Linked DNA regions of Homo sapiens: region 2 is linked to region 1. Evidence: promoter capture Hi-C in 16 types of primary human blood cells and fetal thymus (Javierre and others, 2016). All regions are on one chromosome and are shown on one strand. Each heading gives the region's core, a stretch centred on a gene start or on the middle of the fragment in contact. The rest is flanking DNA. Distances are from core to core; before and after follow the strand shown.

Region 1 (5,672 bases), core at 1,169-3,668:
GTTTGGGACTTCCGCCGCCTGCAGGGCTCCTAAAGGGCTGAGGAAGGCCTAGAATCCTCCTGCGCACCCGATCTCGCGTAGTCCGAGGGTCCGACCCCTCCAACCCCTCCAGGGTAGGGGGCAAGGAAGGGCCGGTGTGCCAGGGAATTCGGTCGCACCCCTCCCTGCCCAAGGAGGCCCAGGAGCTCCCTCGGGCCGAGCTCTGCAGGGAAGTGAATGCCCCATCTGCTGCAGGGACCCCCATCAGGAGGACCCGAATCCCAGGGACCCGCACCCGCGACGCGGTAGTGGGAGTCAAGACCCGGCGGCTGCACCCCCGACGGCTTGGCCGCATGGGAGCAAAGCCCTCGGTGCCTCAAGGCGCCAGTCTGGGCTTTTGAGCGTTGCGGGAGGTAACAGGAGAGTTCGCCGGATTTTAACACAATCCCACTCTACATCTTCAGAACAGGGTGGCCGCAAAGTCCCTTACCCCTCTTACCCGTCTCTGCTCCCACCCGCCTCACCAACCCGCCGGAGCAGAGCTCGTAATCAAAGGCACTTTCCCCGGGCGCCCAGTCGGCGTCGGACTTCGAGGGCAGCGTGCGCAGCGAAGCCGGGCTGAGGGGCGATCAGCCCGCTGGGGACCCTGGAAACCCGCCGCCCTGCGGAGAGTAGCTCGGGACAGTTCCACCGCTCCGCCCAGTCAACTAAAGTGGAAGCCTGATGTCGGCCTGCAGGGCCAGAGATGCCCTCCGGAGCTGGGCCAAACCTGGGTGCCCCTAAGTGGCTGGAGGGGTGGCTGGGTGGACAGCGCGAAAGACCCCGCTCAGGGGGCCCCCTCCTGGCTTGGGACGGTAGAGGGGTCCCGCGGGGTGGCGGCGGAGGCAGGGGAGGTGGCGGCGGGGCGGGAGGTGCGGACGGTGCGCGCGTCGCTGCGAGCTGGAGCCCCTAGGGGCCCGCCACACACACTCGCACCCCTCCCCCTCCCGGCCTTCCTCCCACCCGCTCGCCGCGACCCCCTCCCCAACCCCCTCCCCTCCCCCCGCCTCCGCCCCATTCTTGGAATTGTGTGGAAAAATTCTCAGCCAAACCTCCCACCTCTCCTCTCCCCCCACCCACCCCCTTTAAAAAACCCCTTTCCTCCCCGGCCCCTGCACTCTTTGTGAATGAGGGCAGGGAACACGGCCCTTCCCCCGCCCAGGAGCCACGCCAGACCGCCGCACTCAGAGGACTGTTTGTTAATAGTCCAATTAGATAATTGCCATCTTTCACTCCTTTTGCTCCGCATTTCCCATAAAGGAATGAATGGGGAGAGCGGCGTGGAGAGGGCTTCTGCCCCGGCAAGGTGACGAGAAGGGCTGGAGCATGCTCCTTGCACAAGGCCATGCGCTTGAATTGAATCATTGTAGCCTAATCAATGCTCTTATTGGATTACTGGCTGTTGCTTTTCTCAAAGATATTGTAGCAGAGACAATGAAATAGCTAGGGGAAAACTTTTTTTTTTTTTTTTTGAAGCAGATCTCACAGTTGAGATTTCTCGGCCGTCTCTCCCTCTCCCCCTCTCTCTCCTGCTGGACTCTGAGTACAAAGCTGCCCTTTGAATGGGCTGCCTCAGGGCTGCTGGAGGTGCAGGCATGAAAAAATCCAACTGGAACTAAATGAAGAGAGGTGGCAGTTTAAGATGGCTGTCTGCGTCGAGGTGTGTTAAGAAGGAGTTGTTTAGGGGAAAATCTTGGCTTTTTTAGAGTGCAAGGGAGATACTTTTTGGGAAAACTTTCTCCCCCCGCTCTGTCCCCCATCCCCCACTCCCAGACAACTGCTTTCTTCTGCCGCAGGGTGCGCAGGGTTTTTTTTTTCTCCCCCCACACCCCCCCGCCGCCCAACCCTCATTCAGCTCTATCTGGCGAGTGTGGAGAAAACCCCTCTAGCCAGTATGTGAGCAGGAGGGTCAAAGGCAAAAGGAAAGTTAATAATGCCTGCTAATGGTACTAACAATTCAGGATGAATCTTGTCAAAAGTTTTTCTGGAAGTGTGGGTCTTTGATTGTGTGTTTCCTGAAAGCAAGACCAATCATTTCCGTTTATTCACTGGCTAAACCCCTACTTGATTGGGGACAAGGACAGAAACCATCCATTACGATCTGATATATTATCCAAACAATTTAGTGTATTCATGAGGTAACCGAAACGTGGGGGCTGCGAAATTACCCGTAATCAATTGCAACAGCGAGTGTGCGTCCCCCCGGGTGTCGGACAACTACAACTCGCCGTCTCAGAAACAGGCGGGAGCCGCAGCATTTCGGAGTTGCGCTGTTCGCTACCTGATCGCCAGGCTGGGGACACTGGACGTGCTCAGAGGACGCGGGTGCTGACGAGGCGGCCTCGCCGCAGCTCCACCAGGATCCTGGACCAGACTGGCCGCCTCTCGGCGAGCGCGCCACTCTCCCGTCGCCGCTGACCCGCGCGCGGCCGCCGAAGCCTCCCCGCGGGGACATTCATTCTTGCCCCTTGCCTGTCGCCGGGCCGGGCGTACGGGCCGCGTTGTCGGGGGTTTTGTCCCCTTTTTCCTCTTTTTTTTTTCCTTCTCCGCCCCCCCCCCTTTTTTTTTTTTTTGCTTTTTTTTTCCTTTCTGTTTTTGTTGTTGTTCTTGCCTATGTTCGGGAAACCAGACAAAATGGACGTTCGATGCCACTCGGACGCCGAGGCTGCCCGGGTCTCGAAGAACGCGCACAAGGAGAGTCGGGAGAGCAAGGGCGCGGAGGGGAACCTCCCAGCCGCCTTCCTCAAGGAGCCGCAGGGCGCCTTCTCAGCGTCGGGCGCTGCTGAGGATTGTAACAAAAGTAAATCCAATTCCGCAGCGGACCCGGATTACTGCCGCCGGATCCTGGTCCGAGGTAGGGATGGGCAGGGCTGCCAGGCGCGTTCTTTGGGGTCGACTCCGGGGCCGGAGCTGCGCGCTGCCGCCGACACAGGCCGGTGGGAAGGAGTGCCGGCTGGGACTTGGGAGAAAGTTGTTGGCCCTCCCCGCCCCGAGTCCGGCTGGGGACAAGCGCCTGGGACTCTCCGGTGCGCTCTCCAGGGGCCTCGGCCCTCCACGCCCGGAGGGGCCCCGCTGACCGGGCTGCGGGGGGAGATGAGGGGCTGCGCGGGTGCGGCCGGGCATCGGGCTGCGGCCTCCGACCCGGGAAAGGAGCAGAAAACTCCGGGAGGAGGTGTGCGCGCTCCAAGGGCCGGACGACCTGCCGGGAGCCGGCCAGGGGACTCCCGCGCTCTGGAGGGCTGAGCGCACCCAAGGGGGAACGCGAGCCCCGGAGAACAGCTGCCGATCGCGGGCTACGGCCCTGCCAGTTAGTGCACTGGGCCGAGGACCCCACGGCCGCGATCGGTGCCCGACCGCTGCCGCCGGGAGAGGCAGCTGGGCTTGGTTACGGAGCCGCGGTTGCCGCTTTGGTGCTCTGCTCTGCCGCTCTCGGATGGCGCGGCGTGCACTTAGCCCCGGCGGCGGAGGCTGCGAGGCCGGGCCCCGGCCCGGCGCCGCCCCAGCCAGCAGCAGATCTCCGGGCCCGGCCGGCCCCGACTCAGTCCCTCCTCCTTCCGCCGCGCGGACTCCGGAGGGAAGGAGACTCGAGGGTGGGGGTGGGGACGTCTGGATCACGGTCTGGTCGGCAAGCCCAGAGCTGGGGCCCGCAGGACCCGGGCGGGGCGACAAGGGTACCCTCAGGCTACAGGGGACCCGGAAGGCTCAGCCGAGGCCCCCCCAGGCCGGAAGAAACGTCCGCCTATGTGGAATTGATTGGATTTTTTTCTCTCCCCTGTCTGGAGGACTCTACAAAAAGACAAAGTGTGGTCCCTCCTTCGGTCAGCGGTATGGAGTTAGGCCCCTTGCCCTCCACACAGTGTCTTTGCTACCTGGTTGTGGTCGCGCTCCGCACCCCGCCCCCCATCCCCAAAACTGCACGCTTCTGGGGACTGTGTCCCCAAATCCAGCTCGGGCCAAGGAGGTGGAGGGGGACGGGAGGGTTCTGGCGGCTGACATCTCCCCTTCCCCAGATGCCAAGGGGTCCATCCGAGAGATCATCCTGCCCAAGGGCCTGGACTTGGACCGGCCTAAGAGGACGCGCACGTCCTTCACCGCGGAGCAGCTCTATCGGCTGGAGATGGAGTTCCAGCGCTGCCAGTACGTGGTGGGCCGCGAGAGGACCGAGCTCGCCCGGCAGCTTAACCTCTCCGAGACCCAGGTACCCGGCGACCAGGCCGCACACAGTTCTGCACCAGCCTTCCTCCCCACCACCCCTACCTAGCCTGCTCTTCACCTCCTAACCTGCTCTGGACAGAACTACCCTTGGGAGGTGGAGGAGATGGGAAGGATGGGTAAGACAGGCCTAAGGATTCCTTCCCCTAGATAATACATCCTTTCCCCCCACCATTCCTGCCATCCCCAAATCCTCCAGGGCCCATGTTTTATCCACCTTGGCCTAGGCCCAGAAGGCCCCAAATCCTGTCCTTTTGGAATTTTTATTGTCCCCCGGTTTTGAGCATTTCCTTCGAGCTTCTGCTCTACAAAGAACTGACTTTTGCCCTTGTTTGGGGTACCCCATTTTGGCTAGATTTCTAGGCCCCACCCCTTGTGGGCCCACCCAGCTGTACTCAGCGTCCAGGCCCATTCTACAGGAGTGAGGCTAGATCTAACACCCCCTGCCCCAGCACCATGGGTGATTCCCAGGAATTAGGTGTACGCCCTCCTGGAGATCTGCCTGTGCAGATCAGGCTGCCCTGACCCTTAAAGGAAGGCTTTCCCCATTCTGAGCTGGCCCCAGCCCTGAGCACCTAGGAGACCCTGTCTTCTGGGCCAGTGATGTGTGAGGTGTGTGATGGGAAGGAGATCTAGGACCCAGAAGCCAGTACTGCTGATTGTGCTTTAGATCTTTCCCTTTACATTAAATCCATATGATGCCCCTTGGAGCTGGCCATGTGGGCTCTGGGCCCAGGAGAGGACCCAAGAACTTGCCAAGTGGCATGTCACCAGCTTGGCCTAGCTACGGCAGCCTTCTTTCTGAAGACTGATCCTTTTCCCCATGCCCAACCCTGAAGCAGGTGGAGAGCATTTTAGGTCCGGGATCTGGGCTGAAAGCTGAGGACTGACAGAACAGATAGGGGTGTTCTTTTTGAGTTTGAGTTGGTATGGTAGCTTTTTCTATTCTCTCTGCTACTACTCCTCTTAGTTTATAAAATCTAGATAGGATAGTCTTTGCCTATTGCTGCAAAACTCTTCTGGGCCACTGCTAGGCCTGCAGAGGGGCAGAAGAATGAGAGGGGAGGTTAGTGGGGAATATTCAATCCACCTCAGCCTCCTGACTTTCTCCCATGATTCCAAGTTCATGACTCAGACCAGTGGAGAGATAAACTAAGAGTATCACCAGACCCTTCAATGCAGCTATCTGGTGAGAAGAGGTGCAGAAATCTCGGTCTACATAAAGTCTCCCGCACATATTATTCTCCTGCAGCCACTTTCCCTGCTTGCTGCTAGCTAATGGTCACGTCTTAAGCAGGAAATGGTCCTTTGTAGCCTTCACCAGGAGTAGTGCTTCTAGGACTAAATCCGAGCGCATTGGGCCAGGGGCCTGGGTCCAGAAAGGCTGGGCAATACTCCCTCCCCGCCTCTCTTCCCACTTCCCTCTTCCTTCTTCCCTCTTC
Region 2 (5,672 bases), core at 951-3,450, 450 kb after region 1:
GCTCTTCACCCCTCTAGACTGCTGGATCTGAATTTCCATATAAAGATTTCCCATCTAAGTCAGAGTTCCTGCTCAGAATTTCAGGGGTAGTGTGGGTAGAGAGATGGGGGCAGAGCTTACAGTGTGGGAAGAGGGATGAGGGGCGGAGCTTATGGTGTGGGAAGAGGGATGAGGGGTGGAGCTTATGGTTTGGGAAGGGGTGGGGGTGGAGCTTATGGTGTGGGAAGAGGGATGAGGGGTGGAACTTATGGTGTGGGAAGAGGGATGAGGAGTGGGACTTACAGTGTGGGAAGAGGGGACAAGGGGCGGAGCTTATGCCACCCTTTCTCCCTTCCCATCCCTGTCCCTGCTGCCGTGGCCCAGGCCCACCTTGCTTTTTCTGGCCCTGTGGGGGCCTCACTGCCACAAGTCCCACCTGGCAGGCTGACATCCCAGTGGGACATGGTAACCGTAATGTAGCGTCTGGGTCTTTGCCTTTCTTCCTTCACACCAACTCCTTGGGCTCCACTCATGGGTCTACTGCCATCCCCAGTTTATTTTCAAGTTTGAACTTTGGAGGAGAATTGTATACATACAGGCCTGGCAGTTTCTTTGCAGCAAGTTGTCCCTTCTTCCTCACCCCGTTTTGTGGAAGCTTCCCCCTTGGACCTTCTATGCTCCTGGGAGGTCCTTGACTCCACAACCTCAAGGATGGAAGAATCAGCACAGGAGCTGTCCCTCGGAAGGGGCCCCTCTTGGTCTTATTTGGGATTTCTTCCTCCCGACCCCTTGGGATCCAGGCTCAGAGGTTTCACCTTTCCCGAGGGCACCATACGTGTGAGAGCCACATCCTCTTTCACTTTAACCTCCAGCCATGTTTGTGCTAAGGATGTCTAATGTGACCCTGTGAGAGTGAAGCTGGGGAGGGGGGACTTTTACTTGCTTGAATAGGGGGCAGTGGGAAATCCTGTCATGCACCTGAGTCAGGGCCCTGTTGACCGATGTCACCTAAGGGCAGACCCAGCTTCTCTGACCCATGGGCTGAGCTGACAGGCATTGATGCTGCCCGGGTGGTTGGCCGTAGCTGAGGGTACTAGGTGATGGGAAGAGGGTTCGCCACGGACAGTGCAGGACACGAGAGTGGTGGTTCTTATCTGGTTTTATAAAGTCAGCCTTCCAGATGTGGTTCTGCCATTTTGAGGCATTTGGTATTTACAGAGTGAAGATGTTCAGTCACCTGCCTGCTGGTAGTATCAGTTTTAGCACTGAAAGTCTCACATCCCAGGAAATCTCTCTATCCTGAGCAAACTGGGACAGTGGGCCACCCTCCCTCTCTTTCTACATAAAGTGAAGGAGTTGATAAATAGCTCTGAAGGTCCTTTGCATTCTTTTTTTTTTTTTTTTCTTGAGATGGAGTTTCACTCTTGTCACCCAGGCTGGGGTACAATGGCACCATCTCGGCTCACTGCAACCTCCACCTCCCAAGTTCAAGCATTTCTCCTGCCTCAGCCTCCCGAGTAGCTGGGATTACAGGCACTGCCCCCACCATGCCCAGCTATTTTTTTTTTTTAGTAGAGACGGGGTTTCACCATCTTGGCCAGGCTGGTCTCGAACTCCAGACCTCAGGTGATCTGCCCGCCTCAGCCTCCCAAAGTGCTGGGATTATAGGTGTGAGCCACCACGCCTGGCCACTTTGCATTCTTAATACCTGAAAATCCCCTTCCCTCCTTGCCCAGTAATTGGACCTCCCAAGCCCCTCTGCCCATGATGAGGCCGACTTCGCCTGATGAGAAGTTATTTGTGAGTGTGTGACATTAGGAGACCTTCTGAACCTGGTCTGCAAGAAGAATGCACTAAACCCCAGGGGTCTGATACAGAACTTGAGGCCTTCCTCCCAGTAGGCATGGTATGAAGGCAGCATCCCAAGGTTCCTAAGAAATGGCAAAAAGTCAGCACCACGGCAGTGGCAGGGATGAAGTGTTCTTCCGTGGTCCATCGGGCTGGCAACTGAGGACACCCGTGTACCTGAATGGTTTCCAGAAGCAAGTGGGGCCTCCCGCTGCAGCTCAAGGCCATGAGAGGTGCCAGGGACCTGGTTAGAGGCCCAGCCATGCTGTTTCTCTGAGCATCCTCAGAAGGGTTGTCCCAGGGCCTCTTGAGCTGGCCCTTCTGAAGGCCCACAGGAGTGGTGACTGGGACTGGTCAGATGTCACAGAGCAGAAGCACTTCTGCCTACTACAGGCCAAGGCCCCAAATGTTTGCAGATGGAAGCCACAGATGAGAACTTGGGGATCAGATTGTTAAAGGAATATTTATTACTATATGTGATATATGTCTATAATAAAACTATTAAAGGGTGGAGGCTTTGAATAAGATATCTTCTTGCTGACTCAACCGCACTCTAGAAAATGAGGGACTATATGGGATTCCAGGAGGGGCTTCCTCCTGGAGCCACTGCTTATCTGTCACCCCCAGTAGGCAAATCTCAGGAACCCTCCTAGCGCTCTGGAGATAACAGGTCGGTTACCCAGATAGCAAAGTCAAATGCTTGTGTTGCTGAGGCCCAGCCATGGTCTGTTTCCAAGGCCACCAAAGATAGGGGTTTGCTCCGATTTGGTCAGACCGTGTGGTATATTACAACTGAGAACAGATCACCTGCCTTCCACCCTGTGATGGTTTGGAAAGTTTCAGGGTCTCTGCAACTCCATGCCTTCACCACTGGAGCATGGAAGCCCGTGTGCCTCCTGCAGTCCGGAATCCCCCCGCTCCTCCCCATGGTGCTGCTCAGCTCTGAGCCAAGGAGGCCCCAAGTGCAAGAGGCCCCACAGCCAGAGCACCTGGTGTTTTCCCCAGGGTGCCTATACATTTTCTTTGGCCACCCTGGGGTGTTTGGGTATCTGGCTTGGGGCCCAGTACCGAGGCACCCTGACATTATGCTCTGCAGAGGACTGTGTAGAGAATGTCCCACAGATGCAGAGCACGAGTGCGCCCTCCTTAGGGATGTCAGTCCAGGCACGGGTGTCCTAGGAGCAGGCCGGCCCAGGGGGCCCTGGGTCCCAGCCTCTGTTTCTGTCTTCCAGGCAGGCCTGGCCTCCCCCGAGAACTCGGAGCAGCTCATCATTGCCTTGGAGCCTGAGGCAGCCTCTATCTACTGCCGAAAGCTGCGGCTACACCAGATGATTGAGCTGAGCAGCAAGGCAGCCGTCAATGGGTACAGCGGCAGTGACACAGTAGGAGCTGGGTTTACACAGGGTACCTCTGCTCTCTCTCTCCCCCTCCTGCTCTCCTTCCTTCCCAAGCCCTGGATGTCTCTCTCCCTCTGATGATTTTAAAGGCACTTAGTGCCATAATGAAGAATCAGGATACTCCGGGAGGAGGTGGGCTTTAAGCACCTCTCTGCTCAGCCCCCCTACCTGGCCCCTCCAAGGACCCCCATAAATGGAGGCATGGTTACCCTGGTTCATCACCCACCAAGTGTCTGGGGGCGGGGAGCTTCTCTCTAAGAATCTGAGGGTAGCCTGAGAGCGGTTATTGGCCTCACATTGTACTAGGCTCTTAATCTTTCTTGTGTATTAACAGATTCTTAATCTAATTCCATTGCCTGTTATTAATTCTCCATTAAGACTGTTGATTTATTGCTGAGTCACTCATTGGGTCTGCTTCATGTGCGATGAGTTTAAAATGCAGATGAAACCGGCTGACTTTTCCTGACCTAGGTGACGCTCGCTTAGCTGTGGGAAGGAGCACCGCCTTAGGGAGACTGAGGATGGCGATTTTAAAAAGCTTTTCCTCTTTAATAATTACCTGAATGCAAGTAGGTCATAGCCTTGGTCACAGAACTTGGTTCCCTGGTATCCAGGGCTCTGTGGGTGTGTCGAGGGCTATAGGGTTTGCAGACACGCCCTGTCAGGGTCAAGGCACCAATATGAGCGCTAAGTGAGAGCACTATGGGGGTGGCGCCGGGCACTGTTGTTAAATCTCAAAGGCACGAGGGCCTAAGGTCTAAGGGTTAATTTCAGGCTGCAAGAAAAGAATTGTGGGGCCGGGCGTGGTGGCTTACACCTGTAATCCCAGCACTTTGGGAGGCCGAGGCAGGCGGATCACGAGGTCAGGAAATCCAGACCACGGTGAAACCCCGTCTCTACTAAAAATACAAAAAAAAAAAAAAAAAAAAATTAGCCGGGCGAGGTGGCGGGTGCCTGTAGTCCCAGCTACTTGGGAGGCTGAGGCAGGAGAATGGCGTGAACCCGGGAGGCGGAGCTTGCAGTGAGCCGAGATCGCACCACTGCACTCCAGCCTGGGAGACAGAGCGAGACTCCGTCTCAAAGAAAAAAAAATTGTGGGAACTGCAAGCCCCTTAACCTTTCCTGACCTGATTTCCTTCTCCGAACATAGGGACAATGATTTGTGCCCTCTCATAGCCACATAGGCGTCTCCGCCACTCAGCACCTCAAGCCACAGCAGGAGCGGAGGTTGTCCCTGTGTTCATGGAAAAGGCAGCACAGGGGTTTGCCAGGCCCAGACGCGCCACCTTGTGGCCGCAATGCATATTGGCTTCAGCTGGGTCAGGAAATGGCCCCCCCCCCCAGTCTATTTACCCAGGGTGCATGTTAGGAAAACACACCCCAAATTCCTTGTATCAGACAAAATTCCTTGATTTGGAATTGTTTAACTGAGCGCACTGCAGGCTGTTTGGCAGATAGCTTCCTCCCTGGGGCAGCAAAGCCGGGAAACTAGGCGATTTCATTAACCCATTCTCCAAAAAATGTGACCAGGGTAGGTCTCATTTGAGAGTCTCGCTCTGTCACCCAAGTTGGAGTGCAGTGGCGCACATTTGACCACATTCTCTTCTTTCAGTTTTTTTCACGTGGAAAATGGGGATAATAATTCCACCTAATTCCAAGGGTTGTTGTGAGAATCTCATCAGGGTGGGCTTTTCAGCTGGGCACAGGCTAAGCCGAGGAATAGAGGAAGGCCGGTGGAAATCACTTTCTCTGGGAAGAGCTGGCTTTGTGATTCCCGACATCGTATTGACTTATTTTGGTCAAATGTCACTAATGTTCCATCCCTAAATCTCCTCATGCTATTGCCTTCACTGACTGCAAATGATCTCTGCTTTTTCATGCTTTCTTACCCGTCATCATTTTCTTTCTGTCGGCCACTAGCTAAGGAACACATACGGCGTAATCGGCAGAGTCGGACCTTTTTGGTGGAGAATGTCATAGGAGAAATCTGGTCCGAGCTGGAGGAAGGTAGCGTCCTTCAATGTCCTTTGCTCTTGCTGGATTTTCCTGTGCTGCTCGTGAAAAGCCATTCCCATTTGTCCCTTTTGCACTTTTGGAAAATGTTCAAACTCAGTGGGTTCTAAAGACCACTCATGCAGGGAGAGCTCTTTTGGGAGCTGTAATTTTGCATGTTGTAAAACCAGGTAGGGATTGGAATTGATCAGTTCCAGAGTAAGTCTTTGGTGAAACGCAGATGATTTTAGGGCACTCACTATTCACGTGGCAGGAAACTGCCCACTAAGTACGTGCCAGGTATGCAGCAATGTGTGAATCTTAGATTCACTCACCTGGGTTCTCCATCGTCCATGTCTAACCATCCTCCTGGGCAGATTGCATTCTCTTTGGTCATGGTTAACTCCTAGAGCTGCTAATTAGCAAAACCATTGTGCTAATGAGAAGTTTTGAGGG

Evidence for each region. The method cuts DNA at HindIII sites, captures the fragments that hold promoters and counts their contacts. A CHiCAGO score of 5 or more calls a contact.
Region 2: a contact is called between a fragment that was not itself captured here and the fragment with the promoter of VAX1 in region 1, in 1 of 17 cell types (endothelial precursors). The highest score is 5.8, in endothelial precursors.

The regions. Positions count from the first base shown.
Region 1 is chr10:117,135,016-117,140,687 of GRCh38, reverse strand. It overlaps VAX1 (ventral anterior homeobox 1), which reads left to right and starts at 2,418. Exons shown (of 3, transcript NM_001112704.2): 1 at 2,418-2,872; 2 at 4,029-4,216. The coding sequence starts at 2,632. RefSeq lists enhancers at 1-248, 249-835. The HindIII fragment of the contact is 11,137 bases long and covers 1-5,672 here.
Region 2 is chr10:116,681,350-116,687,021 of GRCh38, reverse strand. It overlaps HSPA12A (heat shock protein family A (Hsp70) member 12A), which reads left to right. Exons shown (of 12, transcript NM_025015.3): 7 at 3,060-3,231; 8 at 5,145-5,231. Among named protein-coding and RNA genes, the nearest start is that of HSPA12A-AS1, 14 kb to the right of the region's middle. RefSeq lists enhancers at 3,699-4,198, 4,199-4,700. The HindIII fragment of the contact is 3,128 bases long and covers 637-3,764 here.